Regions from separate parts of the Homo sapiens genome. Here region 1 is linked to region 2. The links are contacts of gene promoters, found by promoter capture Hi-C in blood cells and fetal thymus (Javierre and others, 2016). All regions are on one chromosome and are shown on one strand. Each heading gives the region's core, a stretch centred on a gene start or on the middle of the fragment in contact. The rest is flanking DNA. Distances are from core to core; before and after follow the strand shown.

Region 1 (6,592 bases), core at 1,192-3,691, 4.3 Mb after region 2:
TAAATGTGGAAGGATGTATATGGTGGCATTAACTTAATGCTGACTTTTTTGTTCTTAATTTGGCACAAAAAGGTGTTTATAAGTGCTCTACTTGTTTCTGAACATTTATTTCTCCTCATAGTTAATTCCTAAACAAATCTTATTCCCTTTACCTACAAAATATGTTCTAGATCTGTTCACTCCTCTCTACCAACATTGTTTTTCCTAGTCAATAAACATAGATCAACCTAATAAAAATTGCATAATACTCTTAATTTTGGATATATCATAAATATGCTACCATTGTTTTTTAAGTCTTTTGCTACTATAATTAACAGTATGAATTACAGTGGAGATTTAATGTTTAACTTCAAAAAGACTCCATAGAGTCTGACGAATGCAAACATATTTACAGTAACTTTTCTTACACTCACTAGATTACTTTGATTTTCGGTTTTATTGGCAAGAGTGATTCGTGAAAACCATGACTAGATGAACATTGGAGGAAACATTCCCAAGCATTAATCACTTAATTTTAGTTTTGTACATTTTTTTCTGTCTAATGTTACCTTTGTTGTAAAATTATCTTTTTTTAAGGAATGCTTTGTAAAGCTTAGTTCTAATATTACAGAATTCATAGTTATGTAATTAATCTCAAAATCACTCACCATTGAAGACCCTTGCTATTTTTATTTCCTATAACACGAAGTCTATTATCTCCTTAATAATTTTTAATTTCCATCCTTAGAACTTCTTCAGCTCTGCTACTTTTTCCTTAAGGCCAGGGTCATAGGCAGCACACTGGTGATAACTCACTGTCTAGAAATATTGCATTTTGTTTACAAAGTTATTTTCTATGTTCAGCATTTTGCTGGCTGCCTTGGGTACAGTACCTCAATTGAATGTCTACACCTGCATATTTGTGGACATTGAAATCATCTACCATTTTTCAGAGACACTACCTTGTGATATAAAAAAACAGAAGCCAAAAAAAAAAAAATCCCAAGGAATTTCTGAAGGAGCCTCTCTTCACTACTCTGCTCTTGTTAGAATAATGAGTAACACTGGTATAACATTCTACAATTTACAAGAATATTTATCTGCTTCATGAAACCTCAAAACAAACCTTTGAGACTATCAGGATCCTAACCACTTTACAGATGAAGATAACTTACATAATAGTTATGGGGTTTCCTGGATCTGACTCCTTTATTCTTCACATTACATTATGTTGCCTTCCCCACAACTAATCAAGGACTCCGTTTTTTCTTTTTTCTTTCTCGAAACCATTTCCTCCATATTAGTTCCCTTTGGAATAGAAGCCTTTTTAAAAGTCCACCTTAGTATATCTTCAGGGAATCACAAATTCACTATGCTATTTATAATTCATGAGTTTCTCTAATGGTATCAAGGCAGCAAATACAGGTGAAGTAATAATTATCCACCTGATAGTACTTAACACACATACCCCGTGTAAAAATACTGCTGGTGTACAGTGTGTGTGTTGGTGACGCCGGAGGAAGTGGCCGTGAACAGGCTTAATGCCGCATTGAGTAACTTCAACCTCATCTTGCTCAGGTTCATATCTCTCCTGAATTTCCCCTGGTAAGCGCAAGATTCAGGATCCGTTCTCACAGTTTTTTGTTTACCAGTTGATGTTGGCTGCATTCAGGAACGCCTTGCTCTCTTAAGCCACAGTGCCTTCCTGGTCTCTTCTTCACAGGGTCTTCCACAATCGCTCTTTTTCCTGGGCACGGTGGTTTGCTGAAAGTCGGGGTGGGGGGCGGGGCGTTCCCAAGTTTCCAGGCCAATTACCTACCTGCCTTAGAGCAATTACGCACTTCTCTCTGGTAGTCCCTGAAATGTTCTAATCATCAGATCGCCCCAGCTTCTCCTGACCGTTTCTTGCTTACGGCTCAGTTCAGACAGTATTTGTTCCGGGACGCTCAGCGGGAGGCGGTTTTTACCGGCTCACTCGAGACCCCAATTCCAGGCGCCCTGCAGCTTCCCTCAGACTCCCCGGGACCGTGTTTGGCCTTCCCATTCGTACGCTGCGGCTGCGCTTTCCTCTCGTAACACCACGCTGGCGAACCTGGAAAGGATCAAATAGTCCCACTCGCCAACCTAGCGCGGCGGGACCGGCCCAAAAGGGCCTTTGCAGCCTGCGCATGCGGACTCGGCGGCCGCCACCGACTCCCCGTCTGCTTCCCTCCGGGCGGCAGCCGCGGTTTGGAGCTTGCTGACAGCTCTGCGACCGGCGGGCGCAGCCTCGTCTCGTGCTTCCACGTTATCCTATCAGGGACGGGGCGGGGCGGCGGCCTCCGCAGCCTATCAGCGCGAACCACGACCCCGGCGAGCCCGGGAGGAAAGCCGCCAGAAAGAAGGCGATTGGATGGCGGCGGCGCTCTGGGGCGTAGCGTCGCCCGGGCCCCGCCCACCGCTGCCTTCCTCTGCTGGGCTCCAGAGCCACTGAGGCCTGAGCGAGAGCCGACGGCGGGCGGGCGCAGCTGCTGCCGGAGCGCCGGCGCGTGCTGGTGGGCCACACACCTTTCCTCCTCTTCACTCGCGAGCCCTCGGACATGGTGGCCCCCGGCTCCGTGACCAGCCGGCTGGGCTCGGTATTCCCCTTCCTGCTAGTCCTGGTGGATCTGCAGTACGAAGGTGAGTCCTGCCCTGCCCCGGCCAGGAAGTGGGCTCCCGGACCAGGCCCCCCGCGCTTTCCCGTCTGCGCCCGGGCGCCTGTCCCGGAGCGGCTCGGGAGGTGGGGCGAGCGCTGGGGGAGCCCGCGGCCTGGCTTGGGCCTGAGCCCGCGCCCGGTTCCGGGTTTGTCTGGGGAAGAATCGAGGGGACTGGCGGGCCGCGGGGCCGGGACAGCGGGTTTGGACTAAGGAACCGGGCCGCAGGAGTCGGAGGAGGCGGGGTGCGGGGGCACCGGGCTACGACTTCAGGAAGTCCTGGGACGCGGAGACTTGGGCAGCCTTTGGGTCCTGGCCTCGCTTGGGACCCTCGCTGGGCGCCTGGGGACACTGTCAGTCATTGGTGCTGGCTGGGAGGAGGCACTAAGGTGGCCAAAAGACTTCCTTCGCTCTGGAGTTCTTGGGTGGGGAAGGAGTGTCATGTCCGGCTGGGAGTTGGAGGGGACAGTGTTGACTATTTAAAAAGTGTGTAACCATCCCCATTAAGATGCACTGTCGTGTAGAGAAATTGTTAGTTTGGTGCAATGAGGAGCCGCTGTTGGAATTCCATCTCCCGGACGGCCAGGCACTGAGTTTGTGGTTTTACAACTCCCAACATGGTGTCATTCAACGTATGGCTGGCATTACTTTTCCAAGTTCGCTGTAAAAAGGTTCCCTTAAAAAGATACGAACGATTAAATTTCACTTCAGTCCTGCAGACTGGAATGTTGGCTACTCCAGAATAGCGAAAATAGAGGGCTGTCCTATCTTAGATGGCAGCGGGGAGGAGTAAGAATTAAAGTTGATAGTGCCGATTTAACGAATGCTTCTGGCGCGGTTACTGTGCGAAATATTCGAGTGTAATGACACATCACATGCACTGATCTATTTTCATCCCCATAAAAAGGGCTAGTTGTCAAGGAGGTCAAATTAAACCTTTGAGTATTCCATTCAAAGGGAGCGAGGAACTAAAAATTGGGAATTGTTTATAGTGAATTCTTCTGAAAGTTCTCAACTTTTTTTTTTAAAGTAGTACTCCCCAGTTTTTAGGTGTCACCCATAGCAATGGGCTTTTGCTTTTGCTTCCCCTGGTAACCATATTTTTTGAACCCCAAATCAGAACACGTAGTGTGGCAACATTGGGACAAAGAATTTGACAGTGAGGCTGCCCCCAGAAAAATCTAGGGGATTGGAATTTGAAGGTCTGTACCACTTTAATATGGGTCATATATTCTAGTTCTTTTGCATTTTCAAAAGCTTCATTCCTCCTGCCCCCGCACCCCACCATCCCTCATCTGTAGTATTTATCTCCAGTTATCATTAATAATTTATTTTGGACACTTAAGAGAAAGTTGCCTATGTTCTGTTTAATGGTGATTTTTTTTTTTAAGTTACAGAGATGCACAATTTTGAATGATTGCTTTTCCCACTACTTTTTAGAATTGCTGTTCTGTATATGAGTCTGTAAGGACTCTTAACTCTTCATTTCCCTCCTGTGGTATTTTCCATAAGAAAACCACATTTGAGAGCTTTTCTGTGTAGGAGGCACTGGTGACATTTCTCAGAGGAGTGCCAGAGTGTCTTCTTTAGGACCATTGTCTGTGTAAAATAGCAGGGACTTAGTACAGGTAACAGAAAAAGGAAAGAAAGGAGCCTTTCTGTAAGCCATATCTTATTCACGAAAGCGTGTGGTATTCATTCCTACTTTACAGACCAGGGAACTGAGGCTCCAAAGGTTTTACTAAAGTTCATTTTGTGTGCACGCTGGAGACAGAAGTTAAGTAGTTGACAACATCATGTGAGTCCAAGCACTTTTAAGTGATGGCAGCTGAGAAAAAAAATCAGCACTTTTTTTTTTTTTTTTTTTTTGTAATTAACAAGAAGGTTATTTCCTGGGAGGTTTAATACAGTGGTTCTCAAACTTGAGTGTGCATCAGAATCGCACATGGAGGGCTTTTTAAAACAGAGTGCTGTACCCCACTTACAGAGTTTGATTCATTAGGTCTTGATGGGACCTGAAATTTTGCGTTTCTAGAAAGACCCTGGATGACCACACTTGAGAACCACTGGTGTAATAAATTATATAGAGGAGTTAAATTAGGTGTCTGCTATGTATTTGACACTGGATTTGGTGATAGGGATATAAAGGTAAGAACTCTGACTTGAATTAGCAAACCGTTAGCCCCTGTTTTCCCAAATAAATTGTGTCTGGATTCACTAATCTCATAGTTCTCTGAAAGGCAAATGGTGCTACTGCTAGGCCTGAGGCTTAATAAAATTGTGTTGTATTAAGGATTTTTGTTAAATAGGTAGGTTTTAGCTGCTCTTGTCACACAAAAAGTAATTATGTGAGATGATAGATATATTAATCTGCTTCACTCTTATTAATCTGCTTCACTATTGTAACCATTTTATGTGTGTATATCTCATAATACTATGTTGTAAACATCAAATATATACAATACAATTCACTTTTAAAAAAAGAAATGAAGGAGAATGGTTATGAGAGAAGTGAATGTGGAACTAAGAGTGGCACAGGATGGGGAAGAGATAACCTAGTGTTTTTCTGATTTTGAAATATTTGCCTTTGTTTTCTTCTAGATTTTTCTGTTAATTGTCATCCAGAGACAGAAAGTATATATCATGAATTGAAAGTTTGAGTCTTTTGGCACCCTCCCTTCTCAAAGGCGTTTGAAAGAGTGAAGTCTAAAGCACTAGATGAGATCGAATTTTTGGAATAGAAAGAAAACTTTAGTAGTATCTGCTTTAGTATTCTCATGTTACAGATAAGGAAGTTATTTCATTTCTTTGCTAATGGTTTGTCCTCTTGGTGACTTGAGTAGCAACACAGCCTGGGAACGAAACCTTTTTTCTCTTATCATAGTTTTATCTCTTTTTCTTCCTTAACATGCTATCTGGACCCAATTTTTCTTTATTTCATTGAGCTGATTAAACCATATATTTTGGCCATGGGGAAAAGAATAGTTGAAAATATATAGTTGAAAATCTATACGTATAAAATATTGTGATAAGTTTTATTTGAACCATGATAAGTTTTATTTGAACCTAACCTATTAAAGGTATGTTTTGTCTTTTCTAGGATTTTCTTGACATTATCTAAATAGGGAAAGAATAAAGTAGCAAAAATGAGTGACTTTAAGTAATTTAAATAAATTAAGTATCATAAAAGGTGGTCACATATTTTCTAGAATTATTTTAAATTCTTTAATAAGATAGGCTGTAGTTAGCAGTAGTATCAAAGTTCCAGTTCTCTTGACATAGTTAGTATTTGCTGAGAAACTGCCTGGAAATGCAGTGGTTTTCATTCTGTGAGGTAGGGGAAGTTGTTCTGGGAGGGGATGCACTGTAGTAATTAGGTTTTATTTTCCCATATGAAGTTAATTAATTGTTGTTAAGTTTAATTTCTACTGCTGTGGTCTCTTTTGATTAGTGTCCTGCAGTTAATCTTTGTTTATATGGAAGTATCATGGGAACCCATTCACCTGCTCTTCAGAACGCAAACATTTCAACCATAGATTTATTTTTCTTTCCATATCTTTAGAAAGCTACTTAAAAAAATTAAATCTGATGAGTTTGTATCATTTGGAGTTCTGGAATATGGAGAAGACTCATTTAATCAGTCAGCAAAGGCTTTTACTAACTATATTGCTCTTTGGTGAGGTATATATACGTAGCATAGAACTCATGGCTTTTGCTTTTGAGTTTACAGACCACTTAGGGTTTAAGACATGCATTTGTGAAGCATTCACGTCCTCTTTTTCTCCTTTCCCGCTTTAGACTGAGTGGTCCATTATTGTAGTTAGTGTACTGCAAATGCCCATTTATTTTCTGGCCCCTGTAATCTTCTGTTTTACTCACCTGCCAAAACCCAACACTGGTTAAATTCAACTTGGCCAACTGTTTTTATACCTTATAGG
Region 2 (6,167 bases), core at 1,539-4,038:
TATTTTTAGTAGAGATGGAGTTTCACCATGTTGGCCAGATGCTCTCGATCTCCTGACCTCGTGATCCACCCGCCTCAGCCTCCCAAAGTGCTGGGATTACAGGCGTGAACCACCGCACCCGGCCGAGGTTTTTTATTTCTCTTTACAAGGTCCTAAGTTGACAAACTATAAACATATAAACAGTTACATAGAAAGTATCAGGGAAGTTTTGGATTTAGAATATTACTAAGCTGTATTTTAAATAATGACCATTTAAGGATTCTCCTATCCAAGGGTATTGGTATTTTGAAAGCAAAGCGCAATGCCTATTATATAAAAGACATTCAATACATTTTTTAAATACATTTTGTAAAATAAGGCATTATAACTATCAAATTATGGACAGTTTTCCCTAGCTTCATTTGTAATGTTTACCAGTAAATTGAATAAAAGGCTAGTTATGGTATAATTTGCAGAGGTTGCTCTAGAATGTTCTTATAAAAGGGATCGTGGCATTGTGTTCTGGGTGGAACTAGAAAACTTGTCTTGAAGCTTGGTAGCTTCAGTAGCAGGCATACTGTTGCCTTGCGTGGTGGGCTTAGGGATGCTAATAGGACAAGATGCCCTTCCAGGCCACATGCTGGCTCATCCACTTTGCTAGCAGTTATGGATAAGAGGTAGAAGGAAAATATATTTATTTTTTGTTAATGGGGATATTTTATACAGACTAAATATATTCTTGTTAGTTCCTATGGCATTTCTATAAATGACCTCCCACCTGTTTTGTTAACTTATAAAATCACTGAGAAAACTTGCTTGTGTGTCTCTTTAAACTCCTGTTAAGCCTAGAATAGCGGTTAAAAAAATTGTATGTTTTCAACCAATATGTATTAGTCAATTAGCTTTTACTGAACCATCAATACTCAGTTGTGTTTATGATTTTTATCCTTGCAAGACACACCGTTTTAGAGATTCCAGTTAATGGGATAGATGGTAATTTAAGGATCTTTTTGATGCTAAGAGTCTAAGATGATCAAATCTATCAAGGAGAGATCTTGGTAACAATAAAGATGTTTTAGAAAAACTTGGGAATTTATTAGCCTTATATAGAGATACACATAATTCCAGTAGAATACAGTTATATAGATAGAAATTATGCATATTTACTAGTAAAAAATCTGCTAAATGAATAAACAGCCCTTGGTGTTGCTGCCCAAAGGCCTTTGGTGAAACCTGATGGGTTTTTCTGTACCACAGAATAGTCAAGGAGAGCCTCTGGAGAAGAGCATGCGGTCTGGATTTGGAAGCCTCAGTTTGATTTCTGGCTTTGTCACTTACCTTAGGCATTCAGTAAGTCACTTCACCTCTGTGTTCCTGTTTCCTCATCTGTAAAACAATGATAATAGTAGTAACTACTTTATAAGGTTGTTATAAAGATTACATGAGTGAATTCATTTCCATAAAATACTTAGAATATTATCTGGCCCATAAGCACTATATACATTCTCATGGTTTTTCTTGTTTCTTTTCATAGATATAGGTGGCTTCCAGACAATCTTTCCATACTTGGTGGTTAGAGCAGAAGAGATTCATGAAGAGCACTGCCCTTTGAAACAAAATCTCATATTCAGAAAACTGATGCCAAACACCAAGTAGCATGATTTCACTCTGAAGCAGTGTTTCAGCCATTGCCCTGGAATGGTTTTAAAGCAAGTGATATACTGCTGAAAGTGCTGCCTTTGATATTAAATGTTCATTAAAAATCTTCACTAAGACATAAAGTTTTTCACTACTATCTCTTGGTAAGGGTTCAAATTTGAGATGAAATTCCTTAAAGTGGTTAAAGCATTCATTGTCCCCTCTGCCTGATGCTTTTAACTAGTTTATTTTACAGAAGGAGTACTCTCTTCAAGTGGCTGTAGATTGAGACACTCTTACAGGCTTAGTTGTTGAGTCAACCACATTTAAAAAATGCACCTGCCCTTTGGTTTATGGTGCGTAATGCATTCCTCTCATAAACTGTAAATTGACAAAATTCCTTTGCCATTTTAAAATTGCTTAAAGTATTTATTTTTCTATATTCCTTGTAAGGAACTCCCCTGAGCACTCTTAACTTAATTGCTCTCTGAAAAATATTTTAAAGAAATTCCAGAAGTGGTAAAGCTCAGAGGAGCCCCACAAATACAAAGTGCTGAAGTAAAATATGATGCTAAATGGTGATAAGAGACTTAAAACTAGATTTCATTGTGATAAGAATGTGATAAAGTTTGATTGTAATTCTTATACCTCCTTTCAGAAAATCATGTTATAGAAAAATGTTCCTAAGCAGTAAAACAAAGCCATTTTAAAAAATAACTTCTCATGTGCACTCTTTAACAACCTAAGTGTTATGAAGTCTCTCAATTGAGATCTTTAACCGTAAATAGTTTTTGCCTTTTGTATTATGTCCAGATCCTATTTAATGCAATTAGAATACAAATTCCTATGTACTGAGGACCTTGATTACATAGATGAGATATTTCTTAGTTCCAGTTGGTGTTTCTCATCTCTTGTCTTCTCTGACCCTATTTATACATTCTCTGTTTTTATCAGATGATTCTTCCCCAGAACGGACTGGGAGAGCGAGGTCCGGGTTTCCTTCTATTTATTTGCATCGATGTCGCTCCGAGTCTTCAGCACTGGGCCGCGTATGACAGCATCTTAGTGGGTGCGGAGCGGGACAGCGCGCCGGGGGCGTGGCAGGGGCGTGGCCTGTCCGCGGGGCGGGGAGTGCGGGGCGGGGCTTCCGCGGAGCGCAGCGAGCGGGCACATCCCAGGTTAGCTGCTGCGAGCCGAGCCGGGCGGCGGAGGCGGCGGCGGCGGCGGCAGTGGCGGCAGTGGCGGCAGTGGCGGCAGCGGCAGCAGTTGCAGCAGTGGTGGCCAGAGCGGATGCTTGCGGGCTCCCTGCGGCTCCACTAGTTTTCTTCGCCCCGCCCAGCCGCCCACTCTTCTCGGCTAGGGAAGAAGACCAGAGGGTGCTCAGCTGGAAAACTCTGGTGTCTCAGCTTAGGGCCTCCTCCGGGAAGAGCTAACTGCTCCCAGGTGAAGCCGGTGCCCGCGGGCGGTCCGTACACCCCGCAGCCGGCTCGCACCGCTCGAGAGCCTCGGCCGCTGTGTCTTCCACGTCTGCAGCTCAGCCAGGGCGCGCAGGGCGAGTGGGGTCCACTGGCGGGTAAAGGGGACCAGGACGGCGAGGATGGACGCACAGACCTGGCCCGTGGGCTTTCGCTGCCTCCTCCTTCTGGCCCTGGTTGGGTCCGCCCGCAGCGAGGGCGTGCAGACCTGCGAAGAAGTTCGGAAACTTTTCCAGTGGCGGCTGCTGGGAGCTGTCAGGGGGCTGCCGGATTCGCCGCGGGCAGGTAAGGGGCAATGAGGGGGTCTCTGGACTGGCGGCGTCCGAGCCCGGCCTTCGCTCCCCCAGGCTCCCTTGGTGGCACTCGTGGGAAGATGACCTTTCGGGCCCTGCAGCCGCGCAGGGTGAATCCCGGGGAGGCTTCCGGGGATGCTTGGTGCGGGTAGCCTGAGTGCAGCGCAGCGCAGCTCTGGGGACCCCTAACCAAGCCTGCGACGAATCCCCGTTCTGGGCATCTGCTTCCCGCCCGGCTCCCTTCGTCTTGGAGGATGAGTTGGAAGGAACCAGGAAAGCAGACATCAGGGCGTGGGGGACACGCAGTCTAACTCCGTTTCTCTTCCGAGTAGGAATTTCCCCAGTGCCCCACCGGGGATTTCGGTTTACTGCTTTCTCATAAGGTGGAGGGAATTGAATTGATCGCCCCAAGTTTGGTACTAAAAATCACAAACCTGCGATATACCCCTTTGCTGGAGAATGGGGCACAGACAAGGGCAGCCGGTCTCCTCTGTAATTAGGACTTGGACCCTGTGCACCCAGAGACGTGACCCTTAGCTGCCCTTCTGTGCCCTCGTATCAAGCCCTGCTTGGAGGAAACCCAACCACCCAGTGTGTCTCCCAGCACCAAGGTAGTTTTTAGCCTGAAAAGTGTTAGGGCAACAGGCGATCAAACCGAACGTACTGGGGAGTCACTTGACATGGATGAGATGTACCAGCGTTCCAAAGGGAAAGATACAGTTTGTGTGGCCAGCGTGGATCTTGCTTCCTGTGAGCGCCTTTTGCCTGTGCTTTCGAACCCTGCTCCCCGTTTCCACCGCACCAATTTCCTTCTGCTGGTGGGAGTTCCAGTGTAGGTTCTGTCTGGAAGAATAGGTCATAGCTGTCAAACGCAATAGCAGGTGTCTAGAGCTAAGTAAGATCTCACTAGAGCCATGCACCCCTTTAGCTGTGACTATGAAGCCAACACAGACGAATCTGTGAGGTTACTGGTTGAACAAAGAACTTGTGGAGGACGCTTAAGTCTAAAGTCCCGAGTTTCCAGGGTTGGGGGACTTGCTTGTAGCAATGAGGAAGTGTGAGCTGTAGCCGCTTTTCTTGATTGCTTTGCTCAATTTTAAGTCATCCCAGAAAGAAAATCTAGGCATTCGGGAACACTGACTCCATTTGAGTTTACATGACCAGTCTTAAACCCAGCTATTTCTTTGTATACCTGTTTGGTACTAGGTGCTTTTTCTGTATTACTTGAAACAAAGTTGACATTCTCAGTTTAGGGCGATTCTTCTATCCCCAAATAAAATATCGCCTTATAGATCTGTATTTTTCTTAGTGCATTCTTTTCATTAGGAAATAAATCTCACTTTATTGGCTGCTGATAAAACTAAAGTGAGTTTGTGCGTGTGGGTGGTGAGGGTGTTATGATGTGAGATCTTTACCTGAATTATTAGATTTTTAGTCCCCAAATATGGTAACTTTGCCTGCTATGTTCACCGAATGTTGATGGCCAGCCCCTTCTCCCCAGTAAGGCCCTGATTTCACTCCACTCTGGTATCTCAGTATTTCTGGTATCTGCTGAATGCAACACATTGATTGGGTGTTCATCTCTTTTAAAGATGAACTTTCCAGAGTATCAGTCACTGAGACAGTGTCTTACCAGGATGTCAGGGAAAACTAAAGCTCTGTCCTAAGGAGAGGGAAATGACTGTAATTATTTGCATTTGATACACATGACACACAAAAAAGTTCCATGACGACAAGGAATCTTTCTTTTCTAAGTCACTCTGGATTGTTTCCCCATTGCTAGTAGATTTTTTAAATCTGTGGCTGAAGGTGATGGAGGAATCACGGGAGCACTCACAGAAGAGGCTTAGAGACATCAGTGGTACTGGTGAAAAGAAATGCTAAGTTCCTTTAATATTTTCACTAAGAAAAAGTCACACAAAAGTGCTATGCTGATTTAGATCCACCCCCCAAAAAAGGCATTCATATAGGAATTTGATATAATTCTGAAGTTTTGTGTCTGTATTGTTGGTCATTCTTTTACAAATAATTCAGCAAAATATTAAACTTTTTTAAACACTGATTCCTCTCATCTCTCTAAAAAAAAAAACCCCTCAATCCCAAATTGAGTAAACCAAACATACCACATGCTTAATAAATAATTTTCTTTCTTTTTGTATTTATATATGATCTACAACATTTAACATGATTGAATATGGTAATTGACTATCATATTTTCTAAGATTATCCTCAATCTCAAGAGAGAACATAATTTAGTCATTTCTCCATGAGAATACAAATAGTAATATCTTTTAACAAATCTATTCATTTAGCACATACCCTTTCACTGACTAAAACAAACACATTTAATTTGATTTTGTTTTTGGAAGTACGTATTTTTACTGCTTTCTTGCATTTCTTGTTCACAGTGGTTAATCCCTGAGATGTCTAGCCAAAACACAGTTTGTATAATATAAGCAGGTAGAATAAGTTTTTAGTTTCTTCCTACCTTTGTGACTTTTACTTTTTCTGATAAAAATGTTATCCAAATTGAAATTATTAAAATTGTGAGAGCAGTGATTTAAACTGTTTCTCAGATTCCCCTCACCTTTGTTCTCTACCCTGCTCCAATTCTTTTAAGCCTATTGAGCTCCTAAGGATGTTTGGATGAGAAATGTAAAAAAGGAGAGAAGGTGTAAATGTGATTAGAATTAGAGATTTCCCTGTGTTCCGATTTTATTTTCTAAGTAGTAGTCAAGGTGCCCTTTGCTCTTGTTTATTTTATTCAGAAAAGAACTGTTAC

What was found. The method cuts DNA at HindIII sites, captures the fragments that hold promoters and counts their contacts. A CHiCAGO score of 5 or more calls a contact.
Region 1: a contact is called between the fragment with the promoter of DNAJC3 here and the fragment with the promoter of GPC5 in region 2, in 1 of 17 cell types (non-activated CD4 T cells). The highest score is 5.1, in non-activated CD4 T cells.

Annotation. Positions count from the first base shown.
Region 1 is chr13:95,674,698-95,681,289 of GRCh38, forward strand. It overlaps DNAJC3 (DnaJ heat shock protein family (Hsp40) member C3), which reads left to right and starts at 2,442. Exons shown (of 12, transcript NM_006260.5): 1 at 2,442-2,640. The coding sequence starts at 2,559. It overlaps DNAJC3-DT (DNAJC3 divergent transcript), which reads right to left and starts at 2,228. Exons shown (of 2, transcript NR_132117.1): 1 at 1,155-2,228. RefSeq lists enhancers at 1,532-2,379, 1,643-1,742, 2,380-3,226, 2,573-2,622 and silencers at 2,263-2,502, 2,733-2,822. The HindIII fragment of the contact is 3,320 bases long and covers 590-3,909 here.
Region 2 is chr13:91,395,833-91,401,999 of GRCh38, forward strand. GPC5 (glypican 5) reads left to right here and starts at 2,789. Exons shown (of 8, transcript NM_004466.6): 1 at 2,789-3,377. The coding sequence starts at 3,215. It overlaps LOC124903189 (a long non-coding RNA gene), which reads left to right and starts at 1,045. Exons shown (of 2, transcript XR_007063831.1): 1 at 1,045-1,329; 2 at 1,514-1,756. RefSeq lists silencers at 2,603-2,897, 2,604-2,873. The HindIII fragment of the contact is 9,875 bases long and covers 530-6,167 here.